Linked DNA regions of Homo sapiens: all the other regions are linked to region 1. The links are contacts of gene promoters, found by promoter capture Hi-C in blood cells and fetal thymus (Javierre and others, 2016). All regions are on one chromosome and are shown on one strand. The core of a region is centred on a gene start or on the middle of the fragment in contact, and the rest is flanking DNA. Distances in the headings are between cores, read along the strand shown. Region 1 holds the start of TARS2 (threonyl-tRNA synthetase 2, mitochondrial). Region 2 holds the start of RFX5 (regulatory factor X5). Region 3 holds the start of TNFAIP8L2 (TNF alpha induced protein 8 like 2). Region 4 holds the start of CDC42SE1 (CDC42 small effector 1).

What was found. Contacts are between HindIII fragments. The CHiCAGO score rates a contact against its expected background, and 5 or more counts as called.
Region 2: the fragment with the promoter of RFX5 here is called in contact with the fragment with the promoter of TARS2 in region 1 in 2 of 17 cell types (neutrophils and total CD8 T cells); the score reaches 6.2 in neutrophils.
Region 3: the fragment with the promoter of TNFAIP8L2 here is called in contact with the fragment with the promoter of TARS2 in region 1 in 5 of 17 cell types (fetal thymus, total B cells, non-activated CD4 T cells and 2 more); the score reaches 10.4 in fetal thymus.
Region 4: the fragment with the promoter of CDC42SE1 here is called in contact with the fragment with the promoter of TARS2 in region 1 in 1 of 17 cell types (neutrophils); the score reaches 5.3 in neutrophils.

The regions. Positions count from the first base shown.
Region 1 is chr1:150,485,531-150,488,889 of GRCh38, reverse strand. TARS2 (threonyl-tRNA synthetase 2, mitochondrial) reads right to left here and starts at 1,471. Exons shown (of 18, transcript NM_025150.5): 1 at 1,374-1,471; 2 at 836-1,032. The coding sequence starts at 1,439. RefSeq lists enhancers at 1,377-1,646, 1,140-1,646. The HindIII fragment of the contact is 2,845 bases long and covers 487-3,331 here.
Region 2 is chr1:151,346,002-151,349,360 of GRCh38, reverse strand. RFX5 (regulatory factor X5) reads left to right here and starts at 2,109. Exons shown (of 11, transcript NM_001025603.2): 1 at 2,109-2,150; 2 at 2,755-2,872; 3 at 3,028-3,156. The coding sequence starts at 3,041. RFX5-AS1 (RFX5 antisense RNA 1) reads right to left here and starts at 2,351. Exons shown (of 2, transcript NR_131972.1): 1 at 2,173-2,351; 2 at 1,470-1,729. RefSeq lists enhancers at 1,695-2,044, 2,011-2,593, 1,648-2,847, 3,187-3,276. The HindIII fragment of the contact is 13,633 bases long and covers 1-3,359 here.
Region 3 is chr1:151,154,991-151,158,349 of GRCh38, reverse strand. It overlaps TNFAIP8L2 (TNF alpha induced protein 8 like 2), which reads right to left and starts at 1,701. Exons shown (of 2, transcript NM_024575.5): 1 at 1,628-1,701. TNFAIP8L2-SCNM1 (TNFAIP8L2-SCNM1 readthrough) reads right to left here and starts at 1,701. Exons shown (of 7, transcript NR_144937.2): 1 at 1,628-1,701. It also overlaps a transcript of LYSMD1 not described here. The HindIII fragment of the contact is 1,285 bases long and covers 1,691-2,975 here.
Region 4 is chr1:151,057,845-151,061,203 of GRCh38, reverse strand. CDC42SE1 (CDC42 small effector 1) reads left to right here and starts at 1,582. Exons shown (of 5, transcript NM_020239.4): 1 at 1,582-1,725. MLLT11 (MLLT11 transcription factor 7 cofactor) reads right to left here and starts at 807. Exons shown (of 2, transcript NM_006818.4): 1 at 651-807. RefSeq lists an enhancer at 670-1,261 and silencers at 3,125-3,174, 3,185-3,244. The HindIII fragment of the contact is 10,016 bases long and covers 1-3,359 here.

The sequences.
Region 1 (3,359 bases), core at 222-2,721:
GATTCCTATATGAGAGTTTAAAAAGTTGATCTCACAGTGGTAGAGAATAGAGTGATAGTTACCAGAGGCTGGAAAGGATGGGGGAGGGGAGATGAAGAGGTTGGCTAATGGGTACAAAAATAGAGTTAGACAGAAGGAATATGCTCTAATGTTCCATAGCAGAGTTGGGTGAATACAGTTAATAATAATTTATTGTATATTTCAAAATAGCTAGAAGATTTGAAATAGTCCCAACACAAAGAAATGATAAATGTTTGGGGTAACAGATATCCTGAACACCCTGATTTGATCATTACATATTGTATGCATATATCAAAATATCACATATACCCATTCATATGTTCAATTATTATGTATCAATTATTAAAAAGTAAATTAATGATTTAAAACAGACAGGGTTACAATCCACAGTGGGGAGAAAGTTGCTCATCTCTCAGCAACTGTAAACTTGCAAAGGTGAAATGAGTTACCAGAGCAACAGAAGCTTTCATTTCTTTCCCCAATGAAAGGACAGAGACTCTGATGCAGAAACTAATACAGATAAAACAAATCTCAGGCCGGGTTTGGTGGCTCATGCCTGTAATCCCAGCACTTCGGGAGGCTGAGATGGAAGGATCGCTTGAGCCCAGGAGTTCAAGACTAGCCTGGGCAACATGGAGAGACCCCGTCTGTATAAAAGAACAACAACAAAAAACAAAAACAAAATCTTCAGGAAAGGCTATCTTAATGGGGACGGAACAGAAACAAGCAGACCAAGTTTTCTTCCCCTGCTCAAGTGAAGAGAAAGTAAAGGGGCAGAAGGATAATCCTGGTAGTTACAGGATGGGCCTGTTACCTGATCTGCCGGGCTAGTTGGTAGGGGGTTGTGTTCCATGCCACAGCATCAATTTTCTGGCCTCCAGGAAGTGATATCTTAATAGTCCGGGGTTCCTTCTGTGCCATGCTTGCTAATCTCTTTACCTGAGCAGCCCACAGCTCCTCAAAAAGGCCAAGCCGCTCTGCCAACCAGCGTGGAGGGGTCGACACAACTGCCTGGAGGGAAAGATATATTAGCAGGTAACACACGTCCCATCATTCTTTCTTAGAATTGCAGATGATGGCACTTTGGGATGGTTAAGTGGACTTCGTCCGAATTCCTACTTTTTAAGGGGATTGGGTGATACAAGACCCTAGGCTGGGGGTCCTTCGAGCTCAGAGTCCCCCAGACCGCTAACTCGAGAATTAGATAACGAGTTTAGATACGAGTCCTTTTCTGGGGACTCGGAGGACCAGGGAGAGGAGGAGTGGCGTGAGGCTGGGTTAACATAAAAATTTGGGGGCTTCGGCTGGGCTAAGTCTGATGCGGATCGGAGCTTTGGGGGTGCCTCACGCACCGTGTGTAGCCTGCAAGCCTGTAAACCTTGGAGCCGGAGACACCGCCACCTCTGATACAGGGCCATGTTCCTTCACACCAGTGCCTACATCCTCAAACAGATTATCGCCGCTTCTCCTCCACGTAATTCTTCATTGGCTTCTGGTCCAACAAAGTCCGTGTCTATTGGTTACTACAGCTGCCACTCTAGTCTGGCACCACCTCCAGGAACTCCGAAGAGGTACACCCTACACAGCACCAGCAGCGGTGTGAGTGGTTCCGGCTGACCGGAAGACCGAAAATGTAACACACCCTCGCTATTCCCCCAGACCCGTGGCGTTTCAGCTGAAACCCAAAAATAGCAATTAGGCGTCCTGTGGCTTTGAGGACAAGGGCAGGTGAACTTTTGAGGGCGAGAGTGGGAGAAAACCAGACAGGAAATGGTAGTAATTTCCCTTTAACTATACATTTTATTTTACGTGGTCCTTACAGCAAGTAGCAAAACTTAAGAGCATAGACTGGGGAACCAGACAGACCTAGTGTAAATTCTGGATCTGCCATTAACTATGTAATTTTGGGAAAATTATTAAACTTCTCATATTTATTTAATAGAGACCGGGGGGGGCGGGAGGGGGGGGCGGGTCTCACTATGTTGGCCAGGGTAGTCTCGAACTCCTGGCCTCAAGCAATCCCTCCCCTCCCCCCCACCAAACCGCCACCGCGCTCCGGCCTCCCAGAGTTCTGGAATTACAGGCATGAGCCGCCTTGCCTGACCTATTTAATTTCTCTAAGCCTCAATTTTCTCAACTATAAAATGAGAATAGTGTTGCTCCCAATTGTTGAGTTAAATTTTATGTAAATCGTCTAGTGTGGCCCATGGTTTTTTGGTAATGGGCAAAAGCAACAAGAAGCTATTATGATAAATGACTGTAACAGTTTTATTTTTTAATTTTGAGACAAGGTCTCACCGTTGCCCAGGCTGGAGTGCAGGGGTACAATCATGGCTCACTGCAGTCTCGACCTCCTGGGCTCAACTGACCACCTCAGCCTCTGGAGTAACCACTTTAAAGCTGGAGCAAAGATGGCCGCGCGCAGTGGCTCACGCTGTAATCCCAGCACTTTGGGAGGCCGAGGCAGGTGGATCACCTGAGGTCAGGAGTTCTAGACCAGCCTGGCCAACATGGTGAAACCCCGTCTCTACTAAAAATACAAAAATTAGCTGGGCGTGGTGGTGGGCGCCTGTAATCCCAGCTACTTGGGAGGCCGAGGCGGGTGGATCACCTGAGGTCAGGAGTTCTAGACCAGCCTGGCCAACATGGTGAAACCCCGTCTCTACTAAAAATACAAAAATTAGCTGGGCATGGTGGTGGGCGCCTGTAATCCCAGCTACTTGGGAGGCTGAGACAGGAGAATCGCTTGAACCCGGGAGGTGGAGGTTGCAGTGAGCCGAGATCACGCCATGCACTCCAGCCTGGGGGACAAGAGCGAGACTTCATCTCAAAACAAAACAAAAACAAAAAAGCTGGAATCAAGAATCTGCAGAGGTCAGTTTGAGTCCCTTTATACTCATGGTGCTTAATAGGGACTTTATAGACCTTTTAATCTTTTTTTTTTTTTTTTGAGATGGAGTTTCACTCTTGTTGCCCAGGCTGGAGTGCAGTGGCGTGATCTCGGCTTACCGCAACCTCCGCCTCCCCAGGTTCAAGCGCTTCTCCTGCCTCAGCCTCCCGAGTAGCTGGGATTACAGGCATGTGCCACCCCAGGCCCAGCTAATTTTGTATTTTTAGTAGAGACAGGGTTTCTCCATGTTGGTCAGGCTGGTCCCGAACTCCCAGCATCAGGTGATCCGCCTGCCTCAGCCTCCCAAAGTGCTGGGATTACAGGCGTGAGCCACCATGCCCGGCCGAGACCTTTTAATCTGACAGATGAGGAATTTAAGGTCAAACAGCAAGTGCTGATGGTGATTTCTGAATCCAAGCTTGGTTTTCTTTTACCACACCATGCTTTC
Region 2 (3,359 bases), core at 860-3,359, 860 kb before region 1:
TATTTATGAGTATCTGCAAATATGTATACATGCAGTCTAAGGCAGTGCTCAAAACAATCAGCTTTGAGGCAGACTGCCTGCCTTTGGATCCTGATTCTAGCACTTTCTACATATATGACTAAGGACAAGTCCCTTCACCTCTCCACATTGGTTTCCTCATCTGTAAAATGGAGACAGTAACAGTACCTACTTCAGAGAGTTGCTGTGAGCATTACACGAGGTGTTTAGCATTTGGTATGGTGTCTGATACCTAATAAACACCAAATAAATTTTTGTTTGTTTTTGTTTGAGACGGAGTTTCGCTCTTGTTGCCAGGCTGTAGTGTAATGGCACAATCCTCCGCCTCCCCAGTTCAAGTGATTCTCCTGCCTCAGCCTCCCGAGTAGCTGGGATTACAGGCATGCGCCACCACGCCCGGCTAATCTTGTATTTTTAGTAGAGACGGGGTTTCTTCATGTTGGTCAAGCTGGTCTCGAACTCCCAACCTTAGGTGATCCGCCCACCTCAGCCTCCCAAAGTTTTGGGATTACAGGCGTGAGCCACCGCGCCTGGCCTAATAAACACCAAATAAATTTTAGCTGTTATTAGAAAACCTGGCCAGGTGCAGTGGCTCACACCTGTAATCCCAGCACTTTGGGAGGCCAAGGCAGGTGGATCACCTGAAGTCAGGAGTTTGAGACCAGCCTGACCAACATGGTGAAACTCCGTCTCTACTAAAAACACAAAAATTATCTGGGCGTGGTGATGCACGTCTGTAAACCCAGTTACTCGGGAGGGTGAGGCAGGAGAATCGCTTGAACCCAGGAGGCGGAGGTTGCAGTGAGCCAAGATCGTGCCATTGCACTCCAGCCTGGGCAACAGAGCGAGACTCCGTCTCAAAGAAAAAAAAAAAAGAAAGAAAGAAAGAAAAAAGAAAACCTCTTGCCAATATATCCTTATTGCCCCAACTCCACAATCTCCTGGGTTCCCCCAGCACTCATAGAAGCTGATAATAGGGAAAGGTAGGCTGTAAAGGGCAATGGTGATGAGCTCAGGCAGCACTACTGTCTTCTTTACAAAAGCACATTAATGATGAGCCTGGAGAACATATTAGATGTCAGGATGGCAAATACAGTTTTGGTTGTAACATGACCGCTGCGCAAAACAAAATACATCCATGTAAGAGGCTTTCAACCTGGAGTCCATGACCTCTCTGAAATTAGATGCAAAACTTGGTCTCTGTGTGCATTTTTCATGGTAGAGGGTCCATTGCTTTTGTCTGATTCATAACCTTAAAATGTCTTAAGTAAGAGGGTTAAGAACCCATGACCTATTCAGTACAATGTTCCCTGAGTGTAAAAAGTTCCTGTGGCATCCAGCACCCCCGTGGGAGTCCATCAAAATTCCAGGGTTCACCGACTGCAGAACTATGGGGATGCAAATGCATTTGCAACTCTTTGGAAGTAAAGTACACACGGGAAACCAAGAAATACTAAGAGGGAAAAAGCATTTTAGTTTAATGGGTACAACTGCTGAGGTTTTGAGGCCTCCATCAAGAAGGAAAAGAGAGCCCAGATTGCAGGTCTGTTGCGAGTAAGTGTGTCTGCAGGTTGTATTAGGCATGTGGTGATGGTGATGGGGGGTTATAGGAGCTTACAGTGAACTTCCATCACTCCTACCCATCATTGTCTAGTTATTTTATCATCCATTGATTCTTCTCTTCCGGCAGCTCTGAGGACCGTAGACTAAACTGAAACACAAAAGGGGAGGGCAAAAGAAAAGACAGTTCCAAAGGGAGCCGAGCGCCCGTTCTTTCATCCTGCGGTCCCTTTAAGAGAAGAACCTCTTGGGACCTGCAGTCCCAACCGACCCCAGTTTTAACCGAAACCCAACCCGGACTTCCCCCTCTTGACTCAAATAAGACCAACTTTGGATTTTCCCTCCCCTATTGACCAATCAGATTCTGTTACCAGGCAGACTTCAGCGGCCGCCGGTACGAGCCCGGCGCCTTCTGTCTCCGGGTGGCAGCAGTGACCAATGACAGAGCAGGCCGCCCGTGTATCTAGGCAGATCGCGGCTGTTACAACCATTCAGAAAAAGGAAAATAAAGCAACGCACGAGCCGGCTGGGCCAGGACCTTGGGGCTGGGCTGGAGTGAAGGTGGCTACGAGGTAGTTTCTCTTTCTCCCTTACCTTTATTGTTGCTTGTGTTGGAAGGCGACTGTTCAGAGGTAGGGAGGGGCAAGATGAGTTGGGAGGAGAGCAGAAAAAGATTGTAGCTGTATTTTCAACAGCTTCTTCACCCATGTGCACGTGCCCGGAATCTGGGACCCCATTCCCCTGCCGGGTTTCTGACGCCCAGCGCATGAGTTCCGCTACCCCGCCCCACCCCCGCTCCACTTTGCAGAAACCGGGGATTGAATGGAGGGGGAAGGGAAGGAGGTGGGGGCGCGCCTCAGGATGGGCTGTTGTGGGAGATGACGTAGGGGCCGGCGACGTGGGGAGGGGGAGCAGCGGGGGAAGTCGTGGCGAGATTAAGTAATGAGAACTTGGGCCCAGTTTTTTTTCCAAGCCTAGAAGGGCAGAATATGTTCGTATCCTTTCTGACCTCCCAGGCATATGCAATGGTGAGGAGTATTTTTGAGAATTAGAGAACTTTGTTTTGTGGCTGTTATTGTTGTTTTTGAGGGGGAGGAGGGCAGTATGGGGTCAGAGGCAGAAATGAAAATTTCTTGCTAACATGGATTCCCAATCCCCCTATCTCTTCCTTTACAGTTTTCCAGATTTAGGAGACTTCAGAAAGGTGGGGCAGATAGAATGGAGATGGCAAAGATCTCTTTGGGCATATATGGGCCTGGCGAAGTAATGGAATAATTTCTAATTTTCGGAGAAGGCAAGTGGTGAGAAAAAGACCACCGGGGAAATTCGGAGGCTTTGTTTCTGTTTCTCTGCCTTTCTGGGTAAAGAGATGAGGAGTGCCCTGGGGCCTTCTGGGGAAGGGAAGGCCAGTGTGAGTTACATCTTTATGCCTGTCCCTCTCAATTCTAGCCCTCATGCCGGGATGGCAGAAGATGAGCCTGATGCTAAGAGCCCCAAGACTGGGGGAAGGGCCCCCCCAGGTGGTGCTGAGGCTGGGGAACCTACCACCCTTCTTCAGAGGCTCCGAGGTACCATTTCGTAAGTACTCATCACATCTCCAAGTCCTGTCCAAGACCTGAGTATAGATCCCTGCAGCACTTCACTTTGGCTGTAGATGAACTGCCTCTCAGCAAGGGCATGGGAGCAGAGGGAGATTTTTGGCCATGGTAGCAATTCTTGAGCACCTGCTGGGCATTTCAGTCCTTTTCCCTCCCTAGCAGTCAGATAAAGAGACAGGGAAA
Region 3 (3,359 bases), core at 452-2,951, 670 kb before region 1:
CAGATAATTCTTTTTTTTTTTTTTTTTGAGACGGAGTCTTGCTTTGTCACCCAGGCTGGAGTGCAGTGGTGTGATCTCTGTTCACTGCAACCTCCACCTCCCGGGTTCAAGCTATTCTCCTGCCTCAGCTTCCCAAGTAGTTGGGATTACAGGCACCCACCACCACGCCCGGCTAATTTTTGTATTTTTAGTAGAGACAGCGTTTCACCATGTTGGCCAGACTGGTCTCGAACTCCTGACCTCATGATCTGCCCACCTCGGCCTCCCAAAGTGCCGGGAATACAGGCGTGAGCCACCACGCCCAGCCTGACAGAATTCTTACAGCTACCATTTTTGGACACTGACTCTGTGCCATATGTCTGTGTGGCATAGATATTACCATCCTTGTTTTACAGCTAAGCAAATGATACTTACATTAAGTAATTTACCCAAGATCAAACGCAACTCATTTTTTGGCCCCCAAAGCCAGTGGCAGCTAGTGCACTATACTTCCTTTAAAGTAAGAAGCATAAGCATCCCAGGAATCCTAATAGGAGTAATAACTAACATTTACTGAGAACCTACTATATGCAAGTGCTTTACGTCAGTCATCTTAGCCTTCCCAATCCTGTGTAAGGTTAGGGTAGGTATCCCCATTTTGCAATGAGAAAACTGAAGCGAAGAGAAATATAGCAATTTGGCCAAAGTCACTAGTAAATTATAAAGATGGGCTTCAAACCAAATAATCCAGAGAAACCTCCTTCCCCGGAATGCTCCCAGTGTGGTTAAAGCACACTGAGGAAGCACGAGAAGCCAACACCTCAAGAAGGGCAGGCAGTCCTGAAGGTCTGAGCCTTCTGCTACACTGAACTCAGGACCCTCTTGGTGGCATATCAGCTCCATGTGTCCAGGGTTCTCTCCCCATGGTCTTCGCCTGTGGTTCTTCTGGTTGTTTTGCTTCTTACTTCCCCCTCCTCTGCTCTGCAGGATGTGGCTGTGACCGCAGTGAGGAGCAGCCTCGCCCTCTCCCCCAAACCAAAATGGGAGTCTGAAGAGGCAGAGGAGGTGGAGACTGTGGGGGTTTTTTTCCCCAGCTGAATCCTTCCAGTGGAAACCTGAACCTTGCTTTGCTCCCAGCTTGCCTTGGGGCTTTCTGGACCATGCTCCCCAGCCGGAAGAGGAGATTGCTCCATGTGAGCCTTCCTTCCTCCTTGGCCTTCCTGTTACCCAGCTCTCCATTGCCCCCATTGCCGTCTCACATTTATTCCGCTGTCTTCTCCCTCTCTCCCTGTTTCAGTCTCCCTTTTTCTCTTGTCTGGGTCCTCCCTATGATCCTCTGGCCTGGCCATACTCTCCCTCTGGCCCTTACCCATCTATCTCCTTGTTTCCTAAGATTTCCTTGCATTTCGCACACATCCATATGGATGTGGATCCACCTGCATCCCTCAGCCCTGCCCCCACCGCATCCAAAACCAGGTCTTTCAGAGGCTGCCTTGCCACCAGAAAAACTAAGCTAAGCTCTACAAAGGACCCAAGAATTGTACAAGCGAGAGTTTCACAATATGAAAAGCTAAGACTGAAAGAGCTAGAGATTCCTCTGCCACCATTACCCCTAAAGTCTACCATTCTGTCACTGCCGGTCCCTCACCTGCTGTGCTGGGTGCCAGTCTTGCCTTGGATGTTCCCGGAAAGCTTACAGAATGGAGAAGCTTCACTTAGTGTGAGAGCCCTTTGGCTTGGCCCCACCCCTTGAGCCCCGCCTACCTACTCTCTGCTTAACCTCCGGTTCATCACTTCTGTCACCAAGAAGGCCTATGGCCCAAGAGCAACCTAGAAATAAGACAAAGGTCAAAAAGAGTGGAATTCTGTTGGAAATAGTCTCAATTCTTTGAAGGGGGGAAAGGGATTTGCATCCTCCACTCTCAAATTGCTTCTTTCTTTTCTTGCTGCCCAGTTCCTGAAGATCCTGTCCTTACATTTCTACAGTACTGGGAAGGATGTAAAGCCCAAATTTCTGGGGTAGGAGGTCAGTGGGAAAAGTTCTGAAGATTGAAAGGTGGTGCTGTGGGGCAAGTATTTAATATATTATTCCAGTGATTGCCAGGTAAGAGCACAGACTGTCACAACCCTTAATACTGAAGGGAGGAAGGTGCTGGGACCAGGGCTGCTGCACCACAGGTGACCAGCAGGTGCCAGCACAGCACTGAATCACTAGCGTAGAGGAACAAGCCTACTGAGTTGCCTTTTTTTTTTTTTTTTTTTTTTTTTTTGAGACAGAGTTTTGCTCTTGTTGCCCAGGCTGGAGTGCAATGGGGTGATCTCGGCTCACTGCAACCTCTGCCTCCCGGGTTCAAGTGATTCTCCTGCCTCAACCTCCCAAGTAGCTGAAATTACAGGCCTGTGCCACCATGCCTGGCTTATTTTGTATTTTTAGTAGAGACGGTTTCACCATGTTGGCCAGGATCGTCTTGAACTCCTGACCTCAGGTGATCCACCTTGGCCTTCCAGAGTGCTGGGATTACAGGTGTGAGCCAACGCACCCCGCAGGGCCTACTGAGTAGGCTACTGTAGTAGCTACTTTGTAGCTGCTAAAGGGATACAAAATGAGGGGAAGCCACAATTGGGTTTTGTTTGTTTGTTTGTTGTTTTGTTTTTGAGATAGGGTCTCACTCTGTCGCCCAGGCCACAGTGCAGTGGCATCATCACAGCTGACTGCAGCCTTGACCTCCTGGGCTCAAGAGCTCTTCCTACTTCAGCCTCCCAAGTAGCTGGGACCAGAGGCTCACAAGCCTTCCTTTTTTTTGTAGAGAGGAGGGTCTAACTATGTTGCCCAGGCTGAACTTCTAAGCTCAAGCAATCCTCCTACCTTAGTCTCCCAAAGTGTTGGGATTACAGGCGTGAGCCACTGCACCCATCCTGGAAGTCACAGTTGTTGAATGAGACAAAAACACTTGCTATCAAGAATCTTATGGGGAATCTGGCGAGGGAAATAAGCTTAAACATAAAGAACAGTAATACTAGTCAAACAATGCCATTAACTTTAATGGAGATTTAAATAATTTTGAGAGTAAAGAAGCTTAATTATGATAGGGCTGAAGAGGTAGACTTGGAAAGATAGATTCAACTACTTAATAGCCAGAGATGGGGAAGAAGTCCCAGATGATGGGGACGGCATAAGCACATGCAGGAAAAAAACAAAATACAGGACGTTCTCAGGAAGTGGTGATTTATGTCTGGAATGTAAGTTGTTTGAGAGATAAGTGAAGAAGGAAAAAGATCAGATCATGGCAAACTTTAAAAAAGTTGCCCCAGGCCGGGCGCGGTGGCTCATGACTGTAATCCCAGCACTTTGGGAAGCCAAGGTGGGTGGATCACCTGAG
Region 4 (3,359 bases), core at 333-2,832, 570 kb before region 1:
CCAATTCCACTGAGCTGCAAATCATTCTTTTCCAGAATCTGTCCCCATACCTAGCTCCTGTGGGCTATACTGATTTCACTATGGAATCAGGCAGTTCTCCAACACAGAGGCCCCCACCTTTCCTACCCTAGGCTGCCTCTTTCTTTGGAGCAAAGATTCGAGGTGGAATGAAAGAGATTATCCAAAGAAAGGTCAGGATTACACCCAACATTATCCCATATAACCCCCTCCCAAACTCCCTCCTACAGAGAAACATAGAACACTACAGAAAAAAATTGCAAGTATAGGGAAGTAGAGGACAGAGAGATACAGTAGGACTAAAAATTAAACAGCTGGTAAAACAAATTATGGTTTGAAAAGGAAGATAAGTAGACTGAAGATATTAAATACACAGGACAATAAATTACAGAAAAGGATACTTGAAATGAGGTAGGTGCTGAGAAATAACTACAAGTAAATTGTTAGAGATTAATGGTCTGTATAAGGTAACAAGGCATGGATGCTGTGAAGAAATAACTACCCATTGTTCATAGCGCCCCCTTCTCTCCTCTTCAGCTGTCCCCCACCTCATGTGGGGTCTTTCAATCTAACCATAAGCAGCCGCTCTTCTATCTTTGCAGCCCCCTGCCCCCTCCCTCAGTTTGGTTTACCTGTTATCAATCAATTACTGGCGTGTTCCAAAGATGGAGGGAGTGCCTCGGGAGCTCCGGGGTCTGCGCCGGGCTGGAGAAATACAAAGCTGTTGGGGCTTTGACGGCTTTGTCTTCTCACTCCTTTTCCCTCTTCAGTGACTGAGTCTGTCAGTTCACTCTCCCCCTGCAATGCAGCCCCTCCTAAGAAGGGCGGAAGGATTCCCCGCCCCCTCCTGCCTGACTCGGCTAATTCAAATGATAGGTTCCAGAACACTTGAGGGAAGGAGAGACGATGAAAGCATCTCCCTAGGCTCATTGGTCTGCGCTATTATTCCCGATCTCTTCCAGCACCCCCGTGCTGACTGGGGGCCCAATGAATGAGCAGTTAATTGCCCTCTAATTTTAGGTCCTCTAATTTATGGATTTGAAATCTTAACTCTAGACTACAATGGAAAGGAGGAGTATTCCTTTCTTCCACAATTTAAGGACTTTAGGTTACAAAGTATTTTTAAGAATCAGAGTATTTTTCCACCCCTTCTCCCAATCCCTGCTCCTCCAGACTCGCCTCTCTACCCTCACAATGGGTAAATAAACCTAGTCCTATTCCATTTTGGGTAGAGCACAATAAATTTGGGGTGGGGGGCGTGCTTCTGCGAATCTCTGAACTTGGTTAGGTCTGGGGGTTTGGGGGGCTCCGCTTCGTTTTGCCCCGAAATGCCTGGCGAGTAAAGGGAACGTGAGATTCCGGGGGCCCCAGCTTGGGTGCCAGGGCCTCATCTAGGTGTCCGCATTCTCCAGTTCTCCCCGCAGGGGCGGCGGCCTTGAGGGGCTGCAGAGGCACCCTCCCACGTCCCGCGCAGTGCAGTGCCTCCGCAGTCCAGAGGGGAGCAGTGCGCCGGGCTCCGAGCCGGACGGGTTTCGTAATCGCGTCGCCGCCGCTTCCGCCCTCAGCCGGCCCCACCTCTGCCGGCTCGTACTCGGCTCCCCCACCTCGCCGCAGAGCTAGCCCGGGAAGCCCACACTGGCGGCCACGGAGCAGAGTCCCTCACCCCCACCAGCTGTAGCTGAACGTCTGGATGGTGGAGAAGAGCAGGTGAGGCCGTGCAGTTGGTCCCCTGGCCCGCCTGCCGCGCCGGCCGGGCCAGGCGGAGACACACCGGATGCGGGGTGTGGGGGAGGCGGGTGTCCTGGGCTGCAGAGATGCTGGGGTGGTGGGAAAGGGGTGCGCGCCCGGGGTGGCCGTAGTCATCCACGCTCCTGGGGTGCGCAGGCTGAGGCCGCTGAAGAGTAGAAGGAAAAGAAGGAACTGGAATGTTGGGGGAGGTGGGAGGGAGAGGGTCCGAAAGATTCCCAGAGAGGTCCCAGTCCGGTTAAGGGTTGAGAACAGCAGAGAACTTCTAGGTAGAGTTGTGTAGTGGGGGGAGACAGATACGGAATCTGTGTGATTGAATATATTTGGGGAGGGGAGGCTTAGGGCCTAGCCCTCTTTCCTCTTAAGCCCCCAGAAGACCTTTCCTGGGGAAGGGAAGGTTGGTGTTGGGCCTGTCACTTGGCTGAAATATGGAGTCCACACCGCTTCTCCAGAGTCCCTCAGCAGCCCTCCATGTCTCGGGGTCTCCACACAGGGACCAGCTGCTGCCCCGGGCTTCTAGCCAGAATTGCCCATGCCATTCTCTCGATTCTTTCTTTCTCTCCAGCTGCTTCATGTGAGGGCTTGTCAGGCCGCGGGTTGGAGGCCTTAGGGCCAGAGGCGGTGGGACCGGGAGAACCGGTTTGGGGCCCGAACAGGACCAGAGAACTAGCCTGTACATCCTTCCTCCCTGGCACCTCTTTCCCATCCCTTCTGCTCACCTCCCAACAGCTCTGAGACCCTCAAGTCCTAGTATGATCTTGGTGGGGGCGGGGGGTGGCTTTCCCGGTTCCATATTTCACTCTTGCCATTTGGAACTCAGAGAGGTCGAGTTCTGAGCACCACTTGGCTCTCAGGACGTGGCCTTATGAGGTCTAATCCTCATCCCTCCTGTTGTTTTCTCAGCCCCTTCCCTATTCACTGTGGGGTTGGATTCGGGTGGCTCTTCCGCCTGGGCTGACCAGCTCAGGACTTCATTTTTCCTCAACCCACTCTCTTCTGGCTGCTTTAAAGAAGAGTGGCCGCCAGTGGCTCTTACTTCCTTTTCTGGCTTTGTTCCCATCCCCCACTGCCCTGCGCTACCATCACATTCACCCTGACCTGTCTTCTTCACACTCTGACCCCACCCTCAAGTTTCAGAGACCCTAATGTCCTAGGGAATGGAATTTCCTGGTCACTTCTCGTCATCATTGGTCATTTCATGCCAAGTCCCACACACACGCTTTCCCTCCACCCAGCTCTGGTCAGGTCCCTGGAAAAGAAACAGAAATGGCCTTGTTCTCTCCACTGCCCCTTTCCCTCTCTCCTTCTCCTCCCCCTCTCTTCTCTTCCCTCCCAGCACTATCCACCTCTGTCCCTCAGCTTTGAGCAGAGTGGGGGATGTTGAGGGAGAGTCCAGTCACAGTACAGCCTGCCTGCTGGTGTTGGGGGTTTCCTCTAATTCTTCATTTTTCCCCAACCCTTACCACCTGCCACCACCACCATCAGGACAAACCCTATGACTGACTCACTGACGTCCCACTGACCACAGCTCCCCTCTCTGGACAGCGTGTTTTAGCTTCCGCTCCTTCTGGTTACTCCTCCCTTCCAGTGGTGAG